Regions from separate parts of the Homo sapiens genome. Here regions 1, 2, 3, 4 and 6 are each linked to region 5. The links are contacts of gene promoters, found by promoter capture Hi-C in blood cells and fetal thymus (Javierre and others, 2016). All regions are on one chromosome and are shown on one strand. The core of a region is centred on a gene start or on the middle of the fragment in contact, and the rest is flanking DNA. Distances in the headings are between cores, read along the strand shown.

The links. Contacts are between HindIII fragments. The CHiCAGO score rates a contact against its expected background, and 5 or more counts as called.
Region 1: a fragment that was not itself captured here is called in contact with the fragment with the promoter of IFIT2 in region 5 in 1 of 17 cell types (erythroblasts); the score reaches 5.3 in erythroblasts.
Region 2: a fragment that was not itself captured here is called in contact with the fragment with the promoter of IFIT2 in region 5 in 1 of 17 cell types (erythroblasts); the score reaches 5.2 in erythroblasts.
Region 3: a fragment that was not itself captured here is called in contact with the fragment with the promoter of IFIT2 in region 5 in 1 of 17 cell types (non-activated CD4 T cells); the score reaches 6.9 in non-activated CD4 T cells.
Region 4: a contact is called between a fragment that was not itself captured here and the fragment with the promoter of IFIT2 in region 5, in 1 of 17 cell types (total CD8 T cells). The highest score is 5.0, in total CD8 T cells.
Region 6: a contact is called between a fragment that was not itself captured here and the fragment with the promoter of IFIT2 in region 5, in 3 of 17 cell types (erythroblasts, total CD4 T cells and megakaryocytes). The highest score is 8.9, in erythroblasts.

Annotation. Positions count from the first base shown.
Region 1 is chr10:89,645,700-89,649,816 of GRCh38, reverse strand. It overlaps PANK1-AS1 (PANK1 antisense RNA 1), which reads right to left. Exons shown (of 5, transcript NR_184344.1): 2 at 819-894; 3 at 529-670. Among named protein-coding and RNA genes, the nearest start is that of PANK1, 2.5 kb to the right of the region's middle. The HindIII fragment of the contact is 233 bases long and covers 2,044-2,276 here.
Region 2 is chr10:89,690,740-89,694,394 of GRCh38, reverse strand. It overlaps the pseudogene FLJ37201. Among named protein-coding and RNA genes, the nearest start is that of KIF20B, 9.0 kb to the left of the region's middle. RefSeq lists an enhancer at 510-1,011. The HindIII fragment of the contact is 479 bases long and covers 1,994-2,472 here.
Region 3 is chr10:88,828,926-88,832,841 of GRCh38, reverse strand. It overlaps ANKRD22 (ankyrin repeat domain 22), which reads left to right. Exons shown (of 6, transcript NM_144590.3): 2 at 816-1,007. Among named protein-coding and RNA genes, the nearest start is that of ANKRD22, 21 kb to the left of the region's middle. The HindIII fragment of the contact is 5,846 bases long and covers 1-3,916 here.
Region 4 is chr10:89,572,410-89,576,617 of GRCh38, reverse strand. No RefSeq gene overlaps it. Among named protein-coding and RNA genes, the nearest start is that of MIR107, 18 kb to the left of the region's middle. The HindIII fragment of the contact is 188 bases long and covers 1,530-1,717 here.
Region 5 is chr10:89,300,226-89,304,145 of GRCh38, reverse strand. IFIT2 (interferon induced protein with tetratricopeptide repeats 2) reads right to left here and starts at 2,100. Exons shown (of 2, transcript NM_001547.5): 1 at 2,018-2,100. The coding sequence starts at 2,022. It overlaps LOC105378419 (a long non-coding RNA gene), which reads left to right and starts at 2,243. Exons shown (of 3, transcript NR_188200.1): 1 at 2,243-2,860. It also overlaps a transcript of LIPA not described here. RefSeq lists an enhancer at 2,073-2,392. The HindIII fragment of the contact is 3,117 bases long and covers 1,814-3,920 here.
Region 6 is chr10:89,706,591-89,710,706 of GRCh38, reverse strand. It overlaps KIF20B (kinesin family member 20B), which reads right to left. Exons shown (of 33, transcript NM_001284259.2): 3 at 1,454-1,540; 4 at 1,246-1,362; 5 at 642-780. Among named protein-coding and RNA genes, the nearest start is that of KIF20B, 7.1 kb to the right of the region's middle. The HindIII fragment of the contact is 5,889 bases long and covers 1-4,116 here.

The sequences.
Region 1 (4,117 bases), core at 911-3,410, 350 kb before region 5:
GTTAGGCAGATAAGAGAAGCCTGAATTCTGCTAAAGTGTAGACATAAATGATTACTAGTCATTATTCCAGAAGTCACAAGATTTACAACTTTCACAAATACTCCTGCAGATAACATTACTATTGTAGAACCTAAGATTGGCCTTTTGAGATGTCTTTTCAGGGTTTTGCATTTTTGACAACCAGTGGCTCCACGTGGACCTGCCAACCCATCCTGTGGCCCCTCCCAGAGGCAGACTCAGCACATATGCAGAAGGACCATTTTCCACACTCCTATGATTGCATCCCCAGCCAATCAGCAGCACTCCATTCCCTGGACTGCCAAACTATCCTTGAAAAACCACAGCCTCTGAATTTTCAGGGTGACTGATTTGAGTAATAAAACCCCAGTCTCCTGTTCAGCTGGCTCTGCATGAATTAACTCTTTCTCTTTTGCAATTCCCCTGTCTTGATAAATCGGCTGTATCTGGGCAGCAGGTAAAATGAGCCTGTTGGTTGGTTACATAAACTTTTCAGCCATTACTGCTCACCTTCTCCCTTCTCAGGCTGCTCTTCAGCCTTGTGGAACTCCTGGCAGTTTCCCAAAAATGCCAGGTTGTTTCAAATGCACCCACAGAGTCTTGGCTCCTTCAGTTCTGAGTAGATTCTTTTAAACCTTCCCTCCCTATTCACCTGAAGAAAGGCCAATATTATTCAAAATTCAGTTTAAGGGTCATTTCCTCCCTGAAACCTGTTTTAGCTTCCACCTCAGCACCACTCCCCCATAAACCCCCACCCCTGACTCTGTCATTGCTCACTCTCTGGGGTCTTCTGGAGTTACCTCCCGCAGCATAGATGGCATACTTTGCTTCCTTCATTGTTTCTCCAAGCCATGATGATCATCTGCATCAAATCCCCTGTTTTTGAAAAAGTTATTTTTTTAATTTTAAAAATATTTATTATCATCTTCGTTATCATCATCATCACCTACTGATGAATCAGTCTATGGGAACTGGACCCAGAATCTGTGCTTACAAAATATCCTGGGTTGCAAGTTACACTGCATGTTCATTTTTTGCAAAATACCTTGAGCTTTATAAGATATGCATACTTTTCTGTATGTATGTTAGTTTTAATACAAATTTAAAAAGGAAAAATTCCCTAGGTTATTCTTACATAACACTGATGCTGGAGAATCACTGACTTTTCTCTCTCTACTGAATTGTAAGCCCTTTGAGGGCAGTGAAGCCATCTATTTTGTCTTTGTATTCCCAGCATGCTTTAGTGCCTACAACATAGTACACACAATAAATGATTATTAAATAAATGAATAAGACCCAAGGGAGTGCACTGGTTTGTGGGTTCCCTTCTCCCTCACTCTCTTCCAAACATTTGTTGCATGCCCCTCCTGGAGGACATGACAGCTCACGCCTCAAAGTTACACCTCCTACACACACCCCTGAATAAACCTGTGAGATGCCACCTGGCTTCTTCCCTACCATACGCTGGGTGTAACTGATCCAAGCACCCAGCCTGACAAGGGTAGGAGAAAGGAAGCAGGTGGAGGACGTTCTGTCCCAGTACCAGTACTTTTGCCCTGCCTGGGTCTGAGCCACCTGGCTCAGGCCTTCCTCAGCAGGCCTGGGAATCCAGCTAGAAAAAATATGTCCTTGGAGATATTGCAATGCTAAAGCTTCTATTTGCATCTCTGATGTAATTTGCTTCCTAAGCCACTCAGCTCAATTATGTGGGAATTTGAAAATGATATATTTGAATATTTAGGAGTGGCTGGTGATTTTTAGCAAATTTACAGTAGAAAGTGAGGGGGACTCTGTGTGAAATATCATCTAAGTCAGGGGTGTCCAATCTTTTGGCTTCCATGAGCCACACTGGAAGAGGAAGAATTGTCTTGGGCCACACATAAAATACACTAACACTAATGATAGCTAATGAGCTAAAAAAAAAAAAGTCACAAAAATAAATCTCATGTTTATGAATTTGTGTTGGGCCGTATTCAAAGCCGTCCTGAGCCGCATGCAGGCTGTGGGCCACAGGCTAGACAAGCTTGATATAAGTCATTTATCCAGTCACAAATAATTACCAAGTGCCTCCTAGGGATAGAGTGATGAACAAGTCATCTGCCTTAAAGATGCTTACAGTGAAGTGGGGTAAGATGGGCAATCAAATAATAATAATGTCTTTTTCTAGCACTTACAATGTGCTGGACACTTTACATATGTTAACCTTAAATAATGAGATTTAGAGAACATGATTAAGTATGAAGTTTGAGTGCAAAGCTTGAGGATAGCCACCTGGAAACACTAACTCCAAATGAGTGGGATCAGTGCTCCAAAGTGGAGAAGTTAAGATTTCACTTATACTGGCAGAGATGGAGAAGTTCCAGCAGAATTACATTTTCCATACAAGACCAATGCATATGCCACAGCGATTTGATTGGTTGCAGACTGCTGCATTCCAAGGAAGATTATTACTCTGTGAGGAGAGGCAGTGATCCAAGGGATTAGTATCTCTGGCCCTGCTCGGTCTTCCTAATTATTTACAAGGAAAAAAGGCAAGCCCAGGCATGGTGGCTCATTCCTATAATTCCAATACTTTGGGAGGCCAAGGTGGGAGGATCGCTTGAGCCCAGGAGTTGGAGGCTACAGTAAGCTACGACTGTGCCACTGCACTCCAGCCTGGGTGAAGGAGTGAGACCTTGTCTTAAAAAAAAAAAAAAAAAAAGCAGAAGTTGTAGCTGCATAGCCACATTTCTCTCAAGTCTCACAAAAAAGTTCCAATAGCTTGAAGTTTGAATTAATTTTACGCATGTGTTATGCATTTCATCAGTCTAACAACTCAGTGATGTCCTATTATTCTCAAGTTACAAATGAGGGAACAGATGCATGGTATAGTTACAAAATGATAAGGAGTCATAAACAGAGTACAAGGAGTAGGAAGAGGGTATGGCAGGGAGACCTAATGTAGCCCTAAGGGTCAGGGAACATTTCTCTAAATATGAGAAGTTAAAGAGGAGATCTAAAGTTGGAGTCTAGTAGACAAAAGAGGTCTTAGAGAAGAGACTTCTCTAAGGCAATGGAAACAGCAGAATGTTGTTTAAGGAATTGAAGGCAGCACAGGGAGCCCCTGATGAGGCAGGAGAGGTAGGGAGGGGCCAGATCACCTGGGTTTTTTTCTCTGTCTTTAAATAGCATAAGGTTAGGGAAGCTAAGAGAGTTGAGATTTGGAGTTTAGTCCCACCTTTGCTCTTAATAACCTCAGCCATCTGTCTGCAGCTCAGTTTCCTGATACGAAAAAAGTATGCAAGAGTGGATAGACCAGAGTGCTCCAGTGGCCCCCATGGTTCTCAAGCTCTGATTCTAGGTAAGGCTCTGCTGGAAGGAATTGCCAGATGCAAGCCCTAGATGCTGCTGAATGCACTGAAGCCCAGGGGCCCAGCAACCCAGTAGCCAGCCAGCACCTGCCAGACTCTGACTCCTCTGTAGATTAATTGCAAATCACGGAGAATATCACAAAATAAATCACACAATAAATACGGCTGTAAGCATGGTTTGTTCCCCTGTCGAAACAAAGGGTGAACTGCTAATCATAATAGCGTAATAAGGAAAACTAGCTTTCTGAGCATTTACTGTGTGCCAGGATTGTACCAGGTACTTTTAGTAGATTTTCTCACAACAGCCCCATTATGGATAGGAAAGTGAGGCCTCAAGAGATTGCATAACTTTGGGAAGGTATTCACCACCCAAATTAGTCCTGCATAGTGAGCATGGACAGTCCCGTTTCCTATTGCTAGAAGTGTTACCTTGAGCATTAACGTTATCTGGGTTTGCTCAGTGGCTGAGTTGGAATTTGAACCCAGTGCTAACTCCAAAGCTCGTAGTGCTGGTCACCACGTGATGCCGCCTTCCCTTCTTAGAAGAGGCAACTCCTTACTCTATAAATAACATGACATTGTCTTTTGAAGTCCTTTCTGGGTGAGGAAAGTGCTTTTTATAGCATGGAATTGCTCCTGTTTACTTGATCTCTTTCAGCACCGATTAATCCTGCCTACAGTTTTGTCCTTCACTGTCCTTACACTGTATTCCTAGGTTTCCTCCCTGCAAAAGACAACTCCATGAGACC
Region 2 (3,655 bases), core at 984-3,483, 390 kb before region 5:
CACTTGTATCCGTAAGTCACACATGCCTCTGCTATTTGCTGATATTTTCTGACTTGGGGATTAATTCCATGGAAAATGTCGAAAAGGGCTAAAGATATACCTATGGGTAACAGTGAGAAGAAGAAAAGGAAGCATCTGTCTTTATCAATATCTCAGAAAGTGGAGTTATTGCAGAAACTTGATGGTGGTATGTCTGTGAGGTGTCTTACTGAAGAATATGGTATGGGAACCACCACGATATATGACTTAAAGAAACAGACAAGTTGTTGAAATTTTATAGTGACAGCAATAACCAGGAACGAATGAAAAATAGAAAAACATTGCATAGAGCCAAAAATGAAGACCTTGACCCTGTGTTGATTGAATGGGTTCGACAACAAAGAAGTAAAGATACACCACTGACTGGTTTGTTGGTCGTGAAACAAGCTAGAATATACCATGAAGAACTGAACTTTGAAGGAGAGTGTGAATATTCAGGAGGCTGGCTGCAGAAATTTAAAAAGTGTCTTGGAATCAAGTATCTTCAAATCTGTGGTGAAAAGGCTTCTCCTGATGATGAAGCTACTGAAAATTACATTGATGAATTTGCTAAGGTAATATCTGATGAAAATCTTAGCCCTGAACAAATTTACAGTGCTGATGAAACAGCTTTGTACTGGTGCTATGTTCCTAGAAAAACTTTAACAATGGCTAACAAAAGAGCAACAACAGATGTCAAAGATACTAAGCAAAAGTTAACTGTTCTTGAGTGTGCTAATGCTGCAGGCACACACAAGATAAAATTGGCAGTGATTGGAAATAGCCTATATCCAAGGTGTTTAAAAGGTGTGCATAATTTACCTGTACATTGTTATGCACACAAGAAAGCATCAGTAACGGGAAATCTTTTCCAACTGGTTTGATAGGCACTTTGTGCCAGCAGCATGAGCTCATTGCAAACTGGACTGGAAGACAACTGCAAAATTTTGTTGTTTCTAGATAACTGTTCTGCACAACCCCCTCCTGAACATCTTGCGAAGAGCAATGCTTTTGGCATTGACTTTCCCCCCAGTGTGACGTCTGTAATACAACCTTGTGACCAAGGAATTCTACACGCCGTGAAGAGCAAGTATAAACAGTTTTTTGAAAAGCATCCTTGCTTCAGTTAACAGAGGCCTGAAAATCCAGGACATCCTTAAAGAATTTAATCTTAAGGATGCCATCTTCACAGTTGCTAATGCTTGGAACGACGTTGATAAGTCAACATTAACAAATGCTTGGCATAGACTTTGGGCTACAATTATGTTTGAAAGTGACCTAGCTGATGAAGATTTTGAAAGAGTTCATGACTCTAATGAGAAAACAATGGTAGCATAATTCATTACCTATGCCAAAAGTTTATCAGCCAAAAGTGTAAATAAGTTAGAAGAAGCTAACATTGAAGAAAGGGTTAACATTGATAATGATGAACCCATTGTGCATCCTAAGAGTGATGGGGAAATTGCTGAGATGGTGTTAAATGCAGATCAATATGAAGATGGTAGTAGTAATGATGATGACATTATGAATTTGGGTGAAAAAAATCTCCATAGATCATATGGTGAAAATGTGTGACCGATTAATTGCTGGCCTTGAACGATGTACATTTATCAGTGAGCAAGAGCTGATGACAATTTACTCAATTAAAGAGAAACTGCTTAGACAGAAACCTGTGTTAAGGAAGCAGGTGAAACTGGGAAAAGTCTTTAATAAAGCTCTCTGTGGTAATGCCGCTTCATCTCTTGACAATCCTGTTTCTGGCTCATCAGATGTCCAGCTCCAACCTGGTTTCATAGGCAGTGGTAATACTGGAACAACCTCTTCTCCAAGATTCTCAGGCAATCAAAGGTAACAAACGTTCATTGCATGTATATGTGTTATGGGTTAGTTTTCATCAGTATAAGTTTTAAATTTTACTTAAAATTTCCTTAGAAATAAGAAGCTTTTTCACAAGTGACAAAACACATTAAAAGCTTATGGTATGTGTGGTCTATATTTATCTTCATATTTCATTTACCAATAAACGTATTTATTTAAAAATGTTATTTACCAATGAATTTACTAATATATTTTTGTAAATAAATTGTAATATTATTTATGGTTTTGTTTCACTTAGTGTGAATTTTCACACATTTATTCGCAGAAATAGTAAGATTAATGTGTTTCATTACATAGTACTGTCCTGTACCCATTTGGAATGTTACAAAATGTATGCAATTTATGTAGTATATTCCAAAGGATTCCAATTTCATCCTGAATTCCAAAAAATTCTCATTTCCAAAACACATTTGGTCCCCAGAGTTTTTAAGAGATTATAGACCTGTGATTCTTTTTTGTTGTGAATGATCCAGTGAAATGATCAATGTAAAATGTCTCACACAAAGTAAATGCCCATTAAGTGTAGTTGCTATTATTAATATTGCGTTACTCTACTTTAAAAATGTAAGACAAGCTTTTTCTGACATTGAAGTTAGCAATAGCATAGGTAATGATATGCATTCTTCAAGTTTTATTACTCTAGGAGATGCTTTGGCAATGTGCTGCTGATAAAGTGTATTAGAGTATCTCCTAAATCTTCATCCAAGAATGGAAACATTTTGCAAATCAGAGGATAGAAAATGTTATGCTACATCAAATTAAATTGCATGTTCATAAAATATGAACACATCTAGTTAGCCCTTATTAATCAAAGAAATATAATATTTTTATCTGCTGCTAACTATCCCCTCAGCTCCGTGTGCCATAAGCACCACACAAACAATAATTTAATCTCCCTTGTGAGCAAAGATTGATTTTTAACCCTCTTCATATAATTTCAGCTACTATTATAAGACCTTGAACATAGCTGAATACATAAAATTGGTATTCTGTTTTGTAAAGAAAGCTGTTATTAGCCTGATGAATGTGAATTGATTCCTGTGGCCTTGTCTTCTTTGTTTTGTTTTTTTGTAATGTTTGTTCATTTAAAATATAAGATGTGTTGCTTTTCTCTCATTATAAAAGGCATACATCGTTCTTGTAGAAAACATGGAAAATACAATTTATAAAGAAGAAAATAAACTCATCTCTAATGTGACAACCAGTGATACAATCACTCTTAACATTTACTTTCAAAGCTATCTATTGCATTAAAGTTTAAGCCTTACGGGGGCAGAAACCATGTCCATTCATTCCTGTTCTCCACCCTGTCCTTGCTATCTTACCATAGTAGGCATATAACACATTTAAAGGAAACACACACTCACACACTTAGGGACCAAACTATATTCACAGGATTTTTGGCCACATTACTTTTAGTGAACACTATATTGTGAGAATTTTTCCGTATGAATTCTATTTGATTTGACAAAGCCAGATTTTCTACACTGCATTCAGCTTATCCTCTTTTCTTCTGGGACTTTCTACTCACAGGCCCAAGGGTAAGCATTATTCTGCAGTCCCTCTGCCAGAGTACCTACCTTCTTTATTGTTCTCACCATTTTTCCATCATAGTTGCCCCTCTTATTTCCCATTAGCTCATGCTGCAGCTTTCTGCTAGCTACTCTTACCAGGTATAAGAAACCTTCACCATCATGTAAACTCATATACAACCTGACTGGTGATTGGCTCCCATTCTCTACTCAACATATTTCTTCAA
Region 3 (3,916 bases), core at 709-3,208, 470 kb after region 5:
AGTCGAGAAAGGCTGGAGCAGAGGAGGGAAAGAGGACAAGATCATGCTACCTGAAGTCTTGCTATTAAACTCCCATGGTGCCTTGTGAAGCTCTGTATAATGCTTTTTATAAACAGCATCTAATCAAGTGTAGTTAACCATATAATTTGTATATTATTTGCCTAAAAAACTGTCTTTTCTGCTCTGTTGAGCTCCTTGAATACAGGGTGCTATGTAGGTCTTATTTCATCACTAGTACTGCCCTAAACTCCTCCCCATATGCTTGTTTTCTATTTTATCTTTAGTAAAGATAAAGATAAAGACATTTTATCTTTAGTAAAGATAAAGATAAAGACATTTTGTCTTTACTAAAGATAAAGATATTTTATCTTTAGTAAAGATAAAGATAAAGGTATTTTGTCTTTAGTAAAGATAAAGATAAAGGTATTTTGTCTTTAGTAAAGATAAAGATAAAGGTATTTTATCTTTAGTAAAGAAAATGAATGCTTTTCCGACAGGCCCACCTACCTGTAAGCACTATACATAGTTTCCTTACTGAGTTGAATTTGTAGTATTTCATTTATTTATTCATCCATTTGATGGACATAAGTGTGTGCCAAGAAAACTTAGGAAAATGTAGGAGGTTCCTCATGGGCTAATTCTTGATCTAGACTTAAAGCTAGGCATAACTGAGACCAAAAAATCTCACCTGCAAAGCAATATATTACAATTTTAAAACATTTAAATTTTAATGTATTGGGTTATGACTTTTTTTTCGTTTTTGTGGTTTAATTATGCCAGTATTTCAAAACCTGCTTTTGTTTTTCCCGACCCAGCCCATCTGCCAAGCAGCCTATCAGAATGACTTTGGACAAGTGTGGCGGTGGGTGAAAGAAGACAGCAGCTATGCCAACGTTCAAGATGGCTTTAATGGAGACACGCCCCTGATCTGTGCTTGCAGGCGAGGGCATGTGAGAATCGTTTCCTTCCTTTTAAGAAGAAATGCTAATGTCAACCTCAAAAACCAGGTGAGGTCATGACATGAATGGAGAGTGTAATTGTTCATGATAATTCTTTTCTCTTTGAATCACTAGAAGTGGTGCATGTCATTTTTTAAATTGCTTGCAGCTCCTAATACGAACAATTATCTTAGCCTACTTTAGAAAGACTGACACATACCAAGGACATTTTATTAGGCTAAACAGCAAAATAAAACATAGTTCAATCAGCAGGCATAATTTGTGATAAATTATGTCTTTTTACCTCTGGTTCACTTATTTGGCTGGATAGAGCTTCTTTCTTTTCCTTCTTCCTCTCTTCATCCTCCTCTTTCTTCCTCTCCCCTCTTTCTCATTACTAACACAGAAGCAATGGCAAAGATTTCTTGGAAAAGAAATGCTGTTTCATTAGTTAGATTTTTACCTGCTATATTAATGTCCTGATCTCCAGAGGATCCTATAGTGTTCTTGTAGAATGAAAGAGTACTATTGAGAAATTTACCAAGGACAAATAAGCTCATGAGCCAGAGGTTACTTGAAGTCACACAAAAAGGTGTAAAGAATATATTTAAAGATGCAATATTAGCTACTTTGGAGCCTTCAGGACCAAGAAAGAGAAGAATATGTGTGTATTGCTGTGAAAATCCTTGTGGAGCCCTTTCTGAACATCTAGCATTTGCATCGTAGTGAAGGCAATATTTAAATTACACTGAATAAATATTAAGCCATTTTTTTGCAATCATTATGACTGTCCTGTACCCACTTATATGCATTCAAGGCGAGAAAACACTGGAAATCCCCCCTTGCCCCTTCTAAGTCATTTGGAGACTAGCTCATCAGGAGTAACAATGTATTATCAGAAAATTGATCATTACTGGACTTTTTTATTTATGCTTACTATTTTTGGTTTGGTTGCGATTAAAAGCAAGTCATGCCTGTGCTGAATGGAACAGATATGCAACATCGTGGACTATAATAGGATCTCTGTAGATCACTGCTGTGAAACCAGATATGTGGAGTTGCAGTGAGTGGTAGTGCCAGAAGACAGATGTCTGTGGGTTCCTGCGCTCTTTTAAGAGGTGCGCTCGTTAGGAAACTGAGGGAGGAGACGTTAGCCCATGGGCAAGGCTGAGGAGACACTTTTATCTCCGCTTTGCAGAAGAGGAGGGCCTCAGCCAGCCTGCTGGGATTTTCTGGTATCATAAAAACCATGAAAAAGACTTTAGTGGATACATTAGATTAATAGATTTTATCAGTAGAAGTTTTTGGTTTGCATTTTCCACTTTCAAATGTTTCTAATGTTAGCATTTAATATTTTTATTTTCTCCAAATATTAATATTTGTACATTAATAATTTGAACCTGTGATTTCTCATGTCTGAAATCTGTTTATAAATTATTTCCAGAAACACTAAACAAACAAACACCTTAAAAACAAACAAACAAACAAAAAGCTCTGCTGGAGATTCAGAAGCACAAGCCTATGGATTCTATTGATAGCAAATTAAATTAAAACATAAAGATCCTTGTTTTTGTCTGTCAAACTGACCAAGATTAAAAAAGAAAACAAATGTTGATCAGAAAGTTTAAGTTATTATTGTCTTATTAGAACACAATTTGATAGCGCAATATGAAAAGCATTAATACTTTTTATGCCAGGAATTCTATTTTTAGAAATGTAGGCAAAGGACAAATTTGGAAATGTTGACAAAAATTTATGAATGAGCAGGTTCAGGCAATATTATTTATAAAAATGAAAAGTTTAAAACTTGAAACGGGCCATGTGCAGTGGCTCATGTCTGGAATCCCAGCATTTTGGGAGGCCAAGGTGGAAGGATAGTTTGAGACCAGGAGTTCAAGACCTGCCTAGGCAACATAGCAAGACCCCCGCATCTCTACACAAAATAATAATAAGTAAAAAATTATCCAGGTGTGGTGGCACATGTTTGTAGTCCCAGCTACTTTGGAGGCTGAAGTTGAAGGATCGCTTGAGACCAGGAAGTCAAGGCTGCAGTGAGCTAGGATTGTGCCACTGCACTCCCGCCTAGGTGGCAAAGCAAGATCCTGTCTCACAGAAAAACAAAAACAAAAACAAAACCCTCAAAAACCATGAAATGTTCAAAAGGCAGGGCTTAGCTAAATACATCAGAGTAGTTCCACTCAATACTAAGCCATGCAGCCATTACAATCATATGTTTAAAAATATTGAATTGCATGGAAAAATGTACATATTCTAAATATACGTTTCTGAACTGAAAAAAGCAAGATATGATATTGCATATGCAATATCATTCTACATTTCAAAATTCCACATTTATGCATTTAAGAAGACTGGAAGAAAATACAACAAAATGTCAACAGTTAACTCTGGACCATTTAATATAATAATGGGCAATTTAAAATTCTATCGTTATGTTCCTCTCTAGTTTCTAAAATTTTTTTACAGAAAATATAAATGCCTTCATATTAGAAAAACAAAAAGTGTTCTTATTTAGGTACAGTGCCTTGCATAAGTGGAAACTAACCTCCTTTCTTTCTCTTGGGCTCCCTCTCCTCTTACTGATTTGATTGGTATTCCAATTACCACCTTCTGTTTTGCCTTATATTTATTTGTGCATATTTCTGTCCATCTTTGATTATGAGGCCCTAAGAGTTCACATCTCCCACAACCCTTGGAAGCTGACATCTATTACCTGATAAGTATTCACATATTTGAAGAATAAAATTGAGTTATATGCATTCTTCTAGACTATGCACATGAAGGAACATGAAAAACAGCCATGTGGTTAAGAGTTTTCCTATGAACAAACCACAAAATGGATAATCGTACACATGGTAGATGATTAAGGGATAACTATCAATTTTCATAGTAAATTCAGTCCTAAGTTTATATCTCAGTGTATCTTTTTTTCCAAAAACTAAGTGGGTATAAGAATCTGT
Region 4 (4,208 bases), core at 374-2,873, 270 kb before region 5:
ACTGTCTGGAAATGTTTTACTATTCTGGATGCCGTTAAGAATATATGTGATCCATGGATGGAGGTCAAAATGCCAACACTAACTGGAGTTTGGAAGAAGTGGATTCCAACCCTCACGGATGAATTTGAGGGGTTCAAGACTTCAGTGGAGAAAGTCACTGAAGATGAGGTAGAAATAGCAAGAGAACTAGAATTAGAAGTGGAACCTGAAGAGATGACTGAATTTCTGCAGTCTCATGATAGAACTTGAAAGGATGAGGAGTTGCTTCTCACGGACAAGCAAAGAAAGTGGTTTCTCGAGATGGAATCTACCCCTGGTGAAGACACTGTAAACATTGTTGAAATGACAACAAAGGATTTAGAATATTGCATAAATTCAGGTGATAAAGCATCGGCAGGGTTGGAAAGGATTGACCTCAATTTTGAAAGTCCTGTTGTGGGTAAAATGCCATCACATGACATCACATGCTGCAGATAAATCTTTTGTGAAAGAAAGAGTCAACAAATGTGGCAAACTTCATTTTTGTCCTATTTTAAGAAATTGCCACAACCTTCAGCAACCACCACCTTGATGTCAGCAGCCAAATACATTGAGATGAGACCCTCTACCAGCAAATAATTAGTACTGGCTAAAGGCTCAGATGATTATTAGCATTTTTTGGCAGTAAAGTATTTTTGAAATTAAGGTATCTATATTTTTTAACACAATGCTATTGCAAACTTAACAGACTATAGTATATTCTAAACATAACATGTACATCTGCTGGGAAACAAATTCATGTGACTTGATTGCCTGGGTCTGAAAACAAAGTTGCAATTTCTCCAACATATGCCTATATATTAATGAAATATATAAAAAGCAATGTAAATTAGAAGACTGAAAAGAACCATTGGAATATAGCACAAAACTGAAATTATATATGTTAATTGGATGTTTTTTTTTTGACCTGTGTGGTATTATTTTCAATTTTGTAAAATATTCCACTTGTTACTTTTGCTTTTCCACTAGTTTTTTTCCTTGTACATTTCTTGAATTATGACATTTCTGGAATCAACCACTAAGCACATTTAGTCAAACGTGTGTGGCCCACAGTTGGTGTGGTTAATACTAAGGGCACTGTGACATAAATTCAAGTAGCCTCAATACCATTTGCGTAATTTGTTTTAACAGATGGATTTTCTTTTTAAATTTTTTGCAGTTATGGCTTAAGGAGAGTTTAAAATTTTCTTTTAGGCTATAAGGCAACCAGAAAGAATTAGACAGTTTTTGTATTGGATTGTTCTTCTCTTTTCTCTTCCACTTCACTTTGTTCATGAAATTTGCTGTTGCTATTTTAGCAAAGTTCAACATCTAAAGAATTTATGCCATTTGGCTGCCATGACACAGATATAAATTATGTTTGTTTTACCACATTCCATAGTGAGGTAGGTGGTGTATGTCTTCTCATATATCTTGAAAATATATGTAAAATTTAATTTTAAAGACAACTTAAACTTTAAAATAATTATTTTTCATTAACTACTCAAGCTTATTTATCCTGACATATGAAATATATTTTCATGATATATTCTTAAACTTTTCTAGCATTCATATTCTCTATGCATATTTGGATGTGTACGTGTTTTTGGCATATTGGGGAAGAGATAGTTAATCCTGCAAGTTGTGGATCTAGAGTTTGTATTAAAATTATTATTTAGGAAGAGTACATTTTTAAGCTTAATATTTGAACAGTTTGTCAAATGTCACTTTATTTTAAATATAAGCCAAAAGTATTTTTGAATTAAGCTCCATAAGTGGGTTGAAATTTGGTAAATTAAACATTATTGTGAATTTTAAACATTTTTAGGCATTCTCCTTTGAGATTTGTTTACTATTTATATTGGCTTTATACATTTTAAAATGAGCAGTCACTTTTCTGTCTGTCTGTTCATGTGCCAACATCAACATTGAATTTATCAAGTAGTTATTTATACAATGTTTAGACAGGCAAAATGAAATGGAGAAGTGGGGCAATTATCTGTAGATCCCACCCACACAACTTTCAGCAACTCTAGAGAAAATGGTGTGGTTGTCCAGAACAATTGAGTTTTGTTGGCTGTGCCCTGAACATTTAGTCAATTACACAATTCTTCGTGTCCTTTAGCCTGTGTTTCTACAGTCCCTGTCTGACCTCAGCTGCTCATGGTAGTCTTCTGTGGTCCTTAATTAACTATGAAGATTATCTCAGCAAAATCAAGCTGTAGGGGTCTTTGTCCATGGAATGTTAAGGACCATTTCATCTATGGCATAATCCATTTTAATGGCCATAGAGAGAGATTTTATGAAGATATAGCCACACTTAGAAATTAACTGCCTGGCGCGGTGGCTCACGCCTGTAATCCCAGCACTTTGGGAGGCCGAGGCGGGAGGATCACGAGGTCGGGAGATTGAGACCATCCTGGCTAACACGGTGAAACCCCATCTCTAACTAAAAATACAAAAAAAAATTAGCCAGGTGTGGTGGCGGGTGCCTGTAGTCCCAGCTACTCAGGAGGCTGAGACAGGAGAATGGCGTGAACCCAGGAGCAGTGAGCTGAGATCGCACCACTGCACTCCAGCCTGGGTGACAGAGCAAGACTCCGTCTCAGAAAAAAGAAAAAAAAGAAAAAGAAATGAGAAATTAACACTTTAAAAAAGGTATATAGTGTTAGGATTTGAAGTTTTAAAATAAAACACCATGGCATGCATAGTTTTTGGAAGCCAAACAAATTCTAAATACACTGGTATTCAAACTTTTAAGATGTAGAGATTTAGTAATTCATTAGTATTAATTATTGAATAATTGCTACTTATGTTTTAGTGTCAGTTTTTATTCATTGATCCAGTCCTGCAGAAGAGACTTTGGAAGCATTAACTGCATCTTGCATTTCAACTCAGGAGAAGTTCATTTTAATTACTAAGGAGTAGTTGCAAAATAGGTTCAAGGCCACTCCCAAAATAAACCTACCAAGTTTGAGAAGTGAAAATTACACTTTTTGCTATTATTCTAATTTTTAAACTTCTAAATAAATGTTGAACAACTATTTGGAGAATATCAGTAAAAAAGGTGCCAAATTATTAACCTGCATTGAACTTTCACAAGTTCTGACCTGGCACTGGATGGAGAGGTAGAGCTTGGACCAGAAGTGACCTTTAATATCCTTCCCAACCCAGAGCTTCTGTGAGTGTGAGAACTGGGCCTTGACCCTGCCCTTTACAAAGCTACCATATGGGGTCCCGGCGCAGTGACTCACGCCTGTAATCCCAGCACTTTGGGAGGCTGAGGTGGGCGGATCACGAGGTCAGGAGATTCAGACCAGGCTGGCTAACACGGTGAAACCCCGTCTCTACTGAAAACACAAAAAAATTAGCCAGGCGTGGTGGCAGGTGCCTATAGTCCCAGCTCCTTGCAAGGCTGAGGCAGGAGAATGGCGTGAGGCCAGGAGGCAGAGCTTGCAGTGAGCCAAGATTGTGCCACTGCACTCCAGCCTGGGCGACAGAGCGAGACTCTGTCTCAAAAACAAACAAGCAAACAAACAAAAACAAAACAAAACAGAACAAAAAAAAAGCTACCATGTGGGAATAAAAGATGTTTCCAGGAAAGAGAGTCCACAACAATAATGACAGCTCTGATGGATTAAGCCTTTCATATGCTTGGCACTCCCTGTACCTAATCTCCATTAATCCACTCAGATGATGAATAACGTGGGGATTCTTATCTTCATTTTACTGGAGAAAAGACTGAAGCTTGAAGAGGCAAAGGAACATGCCAAGAGCATGCCATGAACAAATCGTCAAGAATCCTGAAGTGGCTTTCTGGGAAAAATCAAGGCTTTTTTGGGACTAAATGATCCAGAGATTTGCTTCCATTTTCTAAAAGGGATTGTGTATAGAGGCAATGTCTGAATGTGTATCTATCACCTTTATCAGTCATATTATTGAAATTTCTGCATACTCAGGCTTAAAATTGCACATTGGCTGGTCTGAAGTTCTAGCTCAAGTGCCTTCCTCCTACTGCTATTCAGTTAGTTAATATTCTTTGGCCAGGTGTGGTGGCTCACGCCTATATTCCCAGCACTTTGGGAGGCCGATACGGGTGGATCACCTGAGGTCAAGAGTTCAAGACCAGCCTGGCCAATATGGGTGAAACCTCGTCTTTACTAGAAATACAAACATTTAGCCAGGTGTGG
Region 5 (3,920 bases), core at 851-3,350:
GTTTGTTTGTTTGTTTATTCTGCCTGGGATAGTTAAGTCTCCATTTGTTCCAAGAAACAGAGGTGAGCAGGAACTGATTTAAAGTTACTAGAGTGCTTCACAGGACCATGGGTAGGACTGTAGTGACCCCAGGAGGATCAGAACAGGACACTGGGGAGCTTGGAGGGCTCAGACCCTGTGTTTTCTCCATGTGCATCTCAGTCACACTCTCTACTGCATTCATTACAGAATATGGTGAGTCCTACAGAATATGACCACTCTCAGACCCCAAGCATGTGCAGCACGCATCCTAACACCTGAAGACTCACTATAGCTTCCTTGCTCCCTCTCAATTCTATTTCCAACTTCCAGTTGAGTTTGGGAGCTCATTCCCTTAACACATAAACTCCTTAGCTCCTTTCTCATTTTACAAAAGAAACAGAGAGAGTAAATAGAATTGAGGTTATCTCCACCATATAAAACATAAAGTCTATTGTGCATTTGCAGGATAGAGATATTTAATATACACACTTAGGTAAAAGCCCTTTGAGCAGCCATTTAAAAGGCATCCAACTTCACTGCTTGATTTTGGGTTTTTATTTCCACTGGTAAGTTAGAGAAGCTGATGCCAGACACTTGCTTCCTGGGCTCTGGCTTGTGAGGACCTATTCTCCCGATTCCTATAGAAGTTCCAGTTGTATACACAACAACAACAATTTCTTCCTTTGCCTCTTATCTGGATGAAAGCCACAGTGACATTATCAACCAGGCTCAGAACTAATGCTACCACCGCAGTCTCAGAATCACTGAGGAGCCTTTTAGAAACACACATCCTCAGACTCTAACCCAGACCCACTTAATGAGAATCTCTGGGGAGTCAACCCTAGGACTCTGTCCTTAATAAGCTGTCCAGGCAATTTTTATGCATGCTCAATTTTGAGAACCACTGTCTTAGGGCACAAGGGCAATGCCCAGTGAAAGTCACAATAGATAAAGAATTAAGGAAAGAAAGGACAGATGGGTCTGTATTGTAATGGGAAAAATTCTAAGATAAGACCATGCTAAAATTCTAAGAAATAAGAAAAGGGTTCTATAGATTCTGGGTGACTACAAAAAAAAGAAATCTGTAAATATCTCAAATCTTTTTTTTTTTTTTTGAAATCAGGCAGAACATTTAGACTAGCAGGAAATAATATCGTTTCAAGAAGAGAAATCAGGAACCTCACAGACAGAGGGCAAGGTGTCTCATAGGAAGTAAGCACAGGGGTTGGTAACACGGGATTCCAGAGCTCCCAGGATGAGGGTTAGGCAACCAGGTCCGGCCACCCCACCTTCAAACTGGAGAAAATATTTCCCTTCCTATTCAATGAGCTAACACTTCCTCTCCAGGGCAGTCTCATGTTTTGGGGATAGAAGGGAATGTTAGAGGTGAGAACAGAACTATTTTCTCCAAGCACTCCATCTCTAATTCATACTCAGGAGGCATTTTGGGGTGAAAATATTTAAGTTTACCAGCCCTTGTGCAAATCTGAGATGAAGAACTACATTAAAAGTAAAATTCACCTTTGCAGGAAGTGGGGTTTGCTATTCTGTGTATATCTTTAACAGTATCTGCTGAAAAGAACCCTTTTGTTAAATAATTGTATTACAAGTCCCCAACTTAATCCTTTCAAATATGAAATAAGACAGGGTCAGTGCACAAGAGCAATGCCCCCAGACCCATCTTTAAGTGAAGCACCAGGCCGATGAAACATCATCCCTCTCTGCTGCCTTCTTTCTCTGATTGCAACTCAACTCCCCAGGCGTGCAGTTCTGGAGATGAATTTAGGAAGCTTGCCAGTGTGAAGCAGAAAATTGTTCAGGAGGGAACAAACCACCATTGGTAAGACAGATTTACAACCAACAGAGGTAGAGGCATAGTAAGGCTATAAACAAACACTAAAATGGAGCTGGCCCTCTTTGGGAACATAGCTTCTCAGGATTTGCATTGGACAAGATGACTCAACAGCACTACCGAATACGAAGGGAAAATATTTACCTCATGGTTGCAGTGCAATTCTCAGCTGTTCGGCAGGGCTCGGTTCAGGCAGCTGCACTCTTCAGAAATCTTCCTCTTCTGCCACCAATAAATGCTGAAGAGACCTATATATACAAGTGGCCTCTGGTTCCTTTTTGTTTGTTTCCCTTCAGCTGACGTTACAAAAGGGAAAGTGAAACTAGAAAGTGAAATTGGCAGGACTCTTTTTCTTTTTTTCTTTTTATTATACTTTAGAGGACTCTTTTTCCTCCGGAGCTGAGTTGTGATCAGAGAAAGAAGGCAGCAGAGAGGGATGTTTCATCGGCCTGGTGCTTCACTTAAAGATGGGTCTGGGGACATTGCTCTTGTGCACTGTCCCTCTCTTATTTCATATTCGAAAAGATTAAGTTGGGGACTTGTAATACAATTATTTAACAAAAGGGTTCTTTTCAGCAGATACTGTTAAAGATATACACAGAATAGCAAACCCCACTTCCTGCTAAGGTGAATTTTACTTTTAATGTAGTCCTTCATCTCAGATTTGCACAAGGGCTGGTAAACTTAGATATTTTCACCCCAAAATGCTCTTGAGTAAGAGCCAAGCCCAGCTGCGTAGTGAGTTAGAAGAACTTCCTCTTTGTGGAATGTACTGATGGCATCAAGGGAGCACAACTCCTAGGAGGACACATTTACAAAGCTCCCTGCCTTGTGATTACCATATTAACCCATCTTTGCTCTGCCTTATACCAATATGATCCACAGGCCACTGTAAGGAGCAGTTATTTAGCCTCGACAGGGCAGGGGATTTTAGTCTGAATCATTGCTGAATCTCCAGTCCCTGCAAAACAACCTGCACATTGCATGGTATGGCAAGCATTCCAAAAGTAGTTGTTGACTAAATGAATACATGATTAGAAGCATGGGCAGTGATGTCTGTCTATCTGGATTTGAAATCAGCTTCCACCTTTATGCTATGAAACTCTGGGGAAAATTATTGAATGTCTCTGCTTCGGTTTTGTAAATTGGGAATAATACAACTACTGGTTTATTGTGGTGTTGGGAGGATGAAATGAGAGAATACGTGAAATGTCCTTAGAATAATGCCTGGCAGTAATAAGTAAATGCTAGTTTCTATTATAATTATTAACTAAAATCGTTAACCAAAGTGATCAGAGGGGAAACTCTTTTTTTCAGGCTGGAGTGCAGTGGAAAGATCCTGGCTTACTGCAACCTCCACCTCCCTGGTTCAAGTGATTCGCCTCAGCCTCTCGAGTAGCTGGGATTACAGGCACGCACCACCACGCCCGGCTAATTTTTGTATTTTTAGTAGAGATGGGGTTCCACCATGTTGGCCAGGCTGGTCTCGAACTCCTGATCTCAGGTGATCTGCCCGCCTTGGCCTGCCAAAGTTCTGGGATTACAGGCGTGAGCCACCACGCCCGGCCAGGGGAAATTTCAATGTTGGCTTTTTCCAGAACTTTATCTCCTCTGACATTCAACAATCCATCACAATTACTGACCTAAGCCAAACAATTCCTAACATCTCCTTATGTTCTTGGCTTCCCCAAGCCCCACAATATTTTCCCCCTTTTTATTGATGTATAATAATTTACATATTTATGAGTTGCATGTGAGTGTTTGTTACGTGCAAAGAATGTTTAATGATCAAGTCAGGGTAATTGGGGTATGTATCACCTTCAGTGTTTATCATTTTTATGTGTTGGTATCATTTAAAGTCCTCTCTTCTAGTTACTTTAAAATATACATAATATTGTTGCTAAGTATAGTCACCCTAGTCGGCTATCAAACATTAGAACTTATTTTTTTTATTTAACGGCATGTTTGTACCCATAACCTAACTCTCATCTTCCCACCACCCCCCTTCCCAGTCTCTGGTATCTATTATTCTATTCTCAATGTCCAT
Region 6 (4,116 bases), core at 1,119-3,618, 410 kb before region 5:
CATAATCACAAACTATAAAAGTAAAATGAAATATAAAATTTCTTCTGGTCATTTATGCTTAATTCTCTGTATCACATCAATACTTTTTCTGGATTTTAATCATCATCTAAATCTCTATCAATGGGTAAAGTATTTTTACAAATGAATTAAATAAATTTGAATTAAAAGCCAATAGCAAGGCCAGGCATGGTGGCTCTTGCCTGTAATCCAAGCACTTTGGAAGGCCAAGGTGGGCATATCACCTGAGGTCAGGAGTTCGAGACTAGCCTGGCCAAAATGGTGAACCCCCATTTCTACAAAAATATAAAAACTAGCTTGGCATGGTGGCGCACGCCTGTAGTCCCAGCTACTTGGGAAGCTGAGCAGCTCAGGCAGGAGAGTCATCTGAACCCAGGAGGCAGAGGTTGTAGTGAGCTGAGATCACACCACTGCACTCCAGCCTGGGCAACAGAGTGAGACTCTGTCCCTCCCCCGCCAAAAAAAAAAAAAAACAGCAATACGTAATAATATGCTAGTACTATTAAAAATAGAGCAAACGCATACTAGGTAATAGCAACATAACTACATGTATGTATTATAAAAACACTGAGTGATTATTATTGCTTCCTTATCCTTTCCAACCAAAATAAAACAATATTTACCTTGAAATGTATATGTTTTTCCTGAATTGGTTAGCCCGTAAGTAAAAATCAGACGACTCTGTCCTTTCAAGAGGTCTTTTACTGGTTGCATAATGCAACCCTGAAAGAATTCCTTCTGTGTAGTTGCTGGGCCAAAAACCTAAGCAAACATTTTTTAAAAACTCTTTTTAGAAAATTCAAGTTAATATTAATAGTGTGTTCCATCCCAACACTACTGTTTAAAAATTTAAAAGATTCATTCTTAAAATAGGTGCCACATCCCCACTCCCACAAATACATTTGATAGTTTTACTACCAGAAAGTTTTCAAGATAGAAATCTGTACCAGGGAATCAAGTATTCACCTAAGTTTTGAAAAGAATATTTCTTAAAAATATATTAATAATAACTTTAATAAAAATATAGTAATAATAACTTTAATAACACTACAGTGATCTCTTTACATCCAATTATATATTTCCAGACCTGAGATTTGAGTCTTATCCTTAAAATCTAAGTTGCATAAGCATAAAATGTATAGTTCATTATATACAATTATATAGCAATTTAGCCTAAGCCAAGTCTCTTTATCTTTAAAACAAAAAACAAAAACACTTCAGTTTTACCTTGGAAAAACTGAATTTCTGTGCCATCTGCCCTGAGCTTTTTTCACTTAACCGACCAAGGATGCATTGAGGCTCTTTCAGCACAACAGTCTGTGAATCCAGAATATGCACACAGCCCTAGAAAACATACCCCCAATAAATAAAAACTAGTATTTTGCCATTTTAAATGAAAGTAAAATATTAAAATTCTATTAAATTCAACACAAACCTCAGACTCAAGTTCTTTTTCTGACTGTGTAAATGGTCTTATTCGAAGACAAACCTGGAGATAATCTTTAGATTCGAAACTGTTTGCCTTAAAAAATAAAGGAGAAAAACATTGTGTTTTTGAAAGATACGGCTTTTCAGAGACCATTTTTCCTTAACATGGCTACTTTTTACATAATAATCTGAGATGATAAAGAATTTCTAAGCAGTCACTATCCTGCTTTTAATAATGTTAGAAAAACTCAATAAATCTATTTAAATAAAAACAAAATACACCAAAAAAGATCCAATTTCCTCCATCTCCTGTATTTATACGTGAAGTTTATAAAAAGGCTTTATTCCACAAAAGCCTAATATAATTAATGAGGCCCTAAGTCATTGGAAAATATAACTCTAGAATAAATCAAAAGTAACTAGAATATTCTATTATTCAAATGCTCAATTCCATGAGGTATTCAGAATTTTTTTACTATGTACCATTCTCCTTGTTACTTTTTCTGAGGAAGAAATGTGCATAGAAAATGTAATTTTAAAGAAATGTTTTAATGTTTTTTTAAAAAAGTAAAAAGGAAACAACTTGATAAATGCAACTTAATCAAAACAGACATAACTAGAAAATCTGAATAACCCAATTTCTATGAAGCAAACTGAATCCATTTTCAAACAAAATAATGCCACAAAAAAAAAAATTCAGGCCCTAGTAGTTTAACAGTAAATTCTATCAAACATTTAAGAAAATGATCAGGCCAGGAGCGGTGGCTCATGCCTGTAATCCCAACACTTTGGGAGGCCGAGGCGGGTGGATCACCTGAGGTCGGGAGTTCGAGACCAGCCTGACCAACATGGAGAAACCCCATCTCAACTAAAAATACAAAATTAGCCAGGCATGGTGGTGCATGCCTGTAATCCCAGCTACTTGGGAGGCTAAGGCAGGAGAATCGCTTGAACCTGGGAGGCAGAGATTGCGGTGAGCCAAGATGGCGCCATTGCACTCCAGCCTGGGCAACAAGAGCAGAACTCCGTCTCAAAAAAAAAAAAAATACAAATTGTACATAAACTCTTTAAGAAAATATAGGAAGAGAAAATACCTTAACTAATTTTGAGTTTGACATAAGCCGAATAACACAATTGACAAAGATATCCTCAGGAAAAAATTAGAAAACAAAATACCACATTAAGATATACGCAAAATTTCCCACACAAAATACTAGCCAATATATAAAACAGGATAATACATCTGACCAAGAATGGTTTATTCTAGGAATATAAAGTCTGTTTAGCATTCAAAAATCAATCCAGGCAATTAACCATATTAAAAGAATAAATGAAGAGAAACTTTTATCTCTACAGATGGGAAAACAGCATTTGACAAAATCCAACGTCCATCTGTAATAAAAATTCTCAGCAAAGTGTAATGAATGCAAACTTCCTCATCCTGATAAAGGGCACTTACAAAAAATCTATCGCTAACAACAAACTTAACAGGAAAGACTCAATCTAAGATGAGCAGCAAAATGAGTAATAAGAAGAGGATTTCTGCTTCCCCACTTCTAGTAACATTGTATTAAAGGTTCTAGCTGGTGTAATTGGGTGTGAAGGGGGAAAGGGGATGGGGGAAGAAAAAAGGAGGGGTAAGGGAAAGAAAAAGGGAAGAGAAAAGGAAAGGAAAAAGAAAGGTAAAAGGGAAGGGAAGAAGGGAAAGAAAGAAGTGGAGGGGAGAGGAGGGGAAAGAAAAGGAAAAAAAAAATGGAAAGAAAAAAAGGAAATGAAAAGACAAAAGTCATCCAAATTGGGAAGGAAGAAATAAAATTTTCTTTATTTAGAAACAACATGAACATACGCATACAAAATCCAACAAATCTACAAAAAATTAATGTATACTAACAAAATGCTAATCAGAGGTTACTTGGAGGTGTGATGGGAGGGAGCACTTACAAGGAGCCTCAAGGAAACTTTTGAGGGTAATGGTTATACTCACTATCTTGACTGTAGTGACAGTTACATAAGTGTATGCACATGTCAAAACTTATCAAACTGCGTATCTAAAATATATGCAGTGTTTCATTATGCCTAAATAAAGCAACTAAAAATATTTACAATAGCATCAAATAACATAAAATGTTTATAAATATATTTGACAAAAGACACGAAAGGCCTCTACATTGACAAGTATAAAATACTGCTAAGACATTAAAGACCTAAATAAAATGAAGAATACTGTGTTCATGGATTAAGACTCAATATTGTCAAGATGTCAATTCTCTCCAAACTGATCCACAGATTTAATGCAATCCCAGTCAAAATCCCAAGATGCTGTCTTGTAGAAACTGGCAAGCTGATTCTAAAATTTATGAATATGCAAAGGACCTAGAAAAGCCAAAATTTTCCTAGAAAAGCAAAACTGGAGAATTCACACTACCTAATTTCAAGAATCATTATAAAGCTACAGAAATAGAGAGTATTGTGTTGGAATAAGGACAAATAGGTCAAAGGAAGAGAATAAAATCCAGAAATAGATCCACATATACACAGCCGTTTGTAAAGCACCAAAACAACAGGGAAAGGAAAGTCTTTTCAATAGATAATGCTGAAATAACTACTTATGTAGTTAAAAAAAAAAAAATGTATGGAAGCTAAAAAGAAAAAGAAAAAAGTTAACCTGGG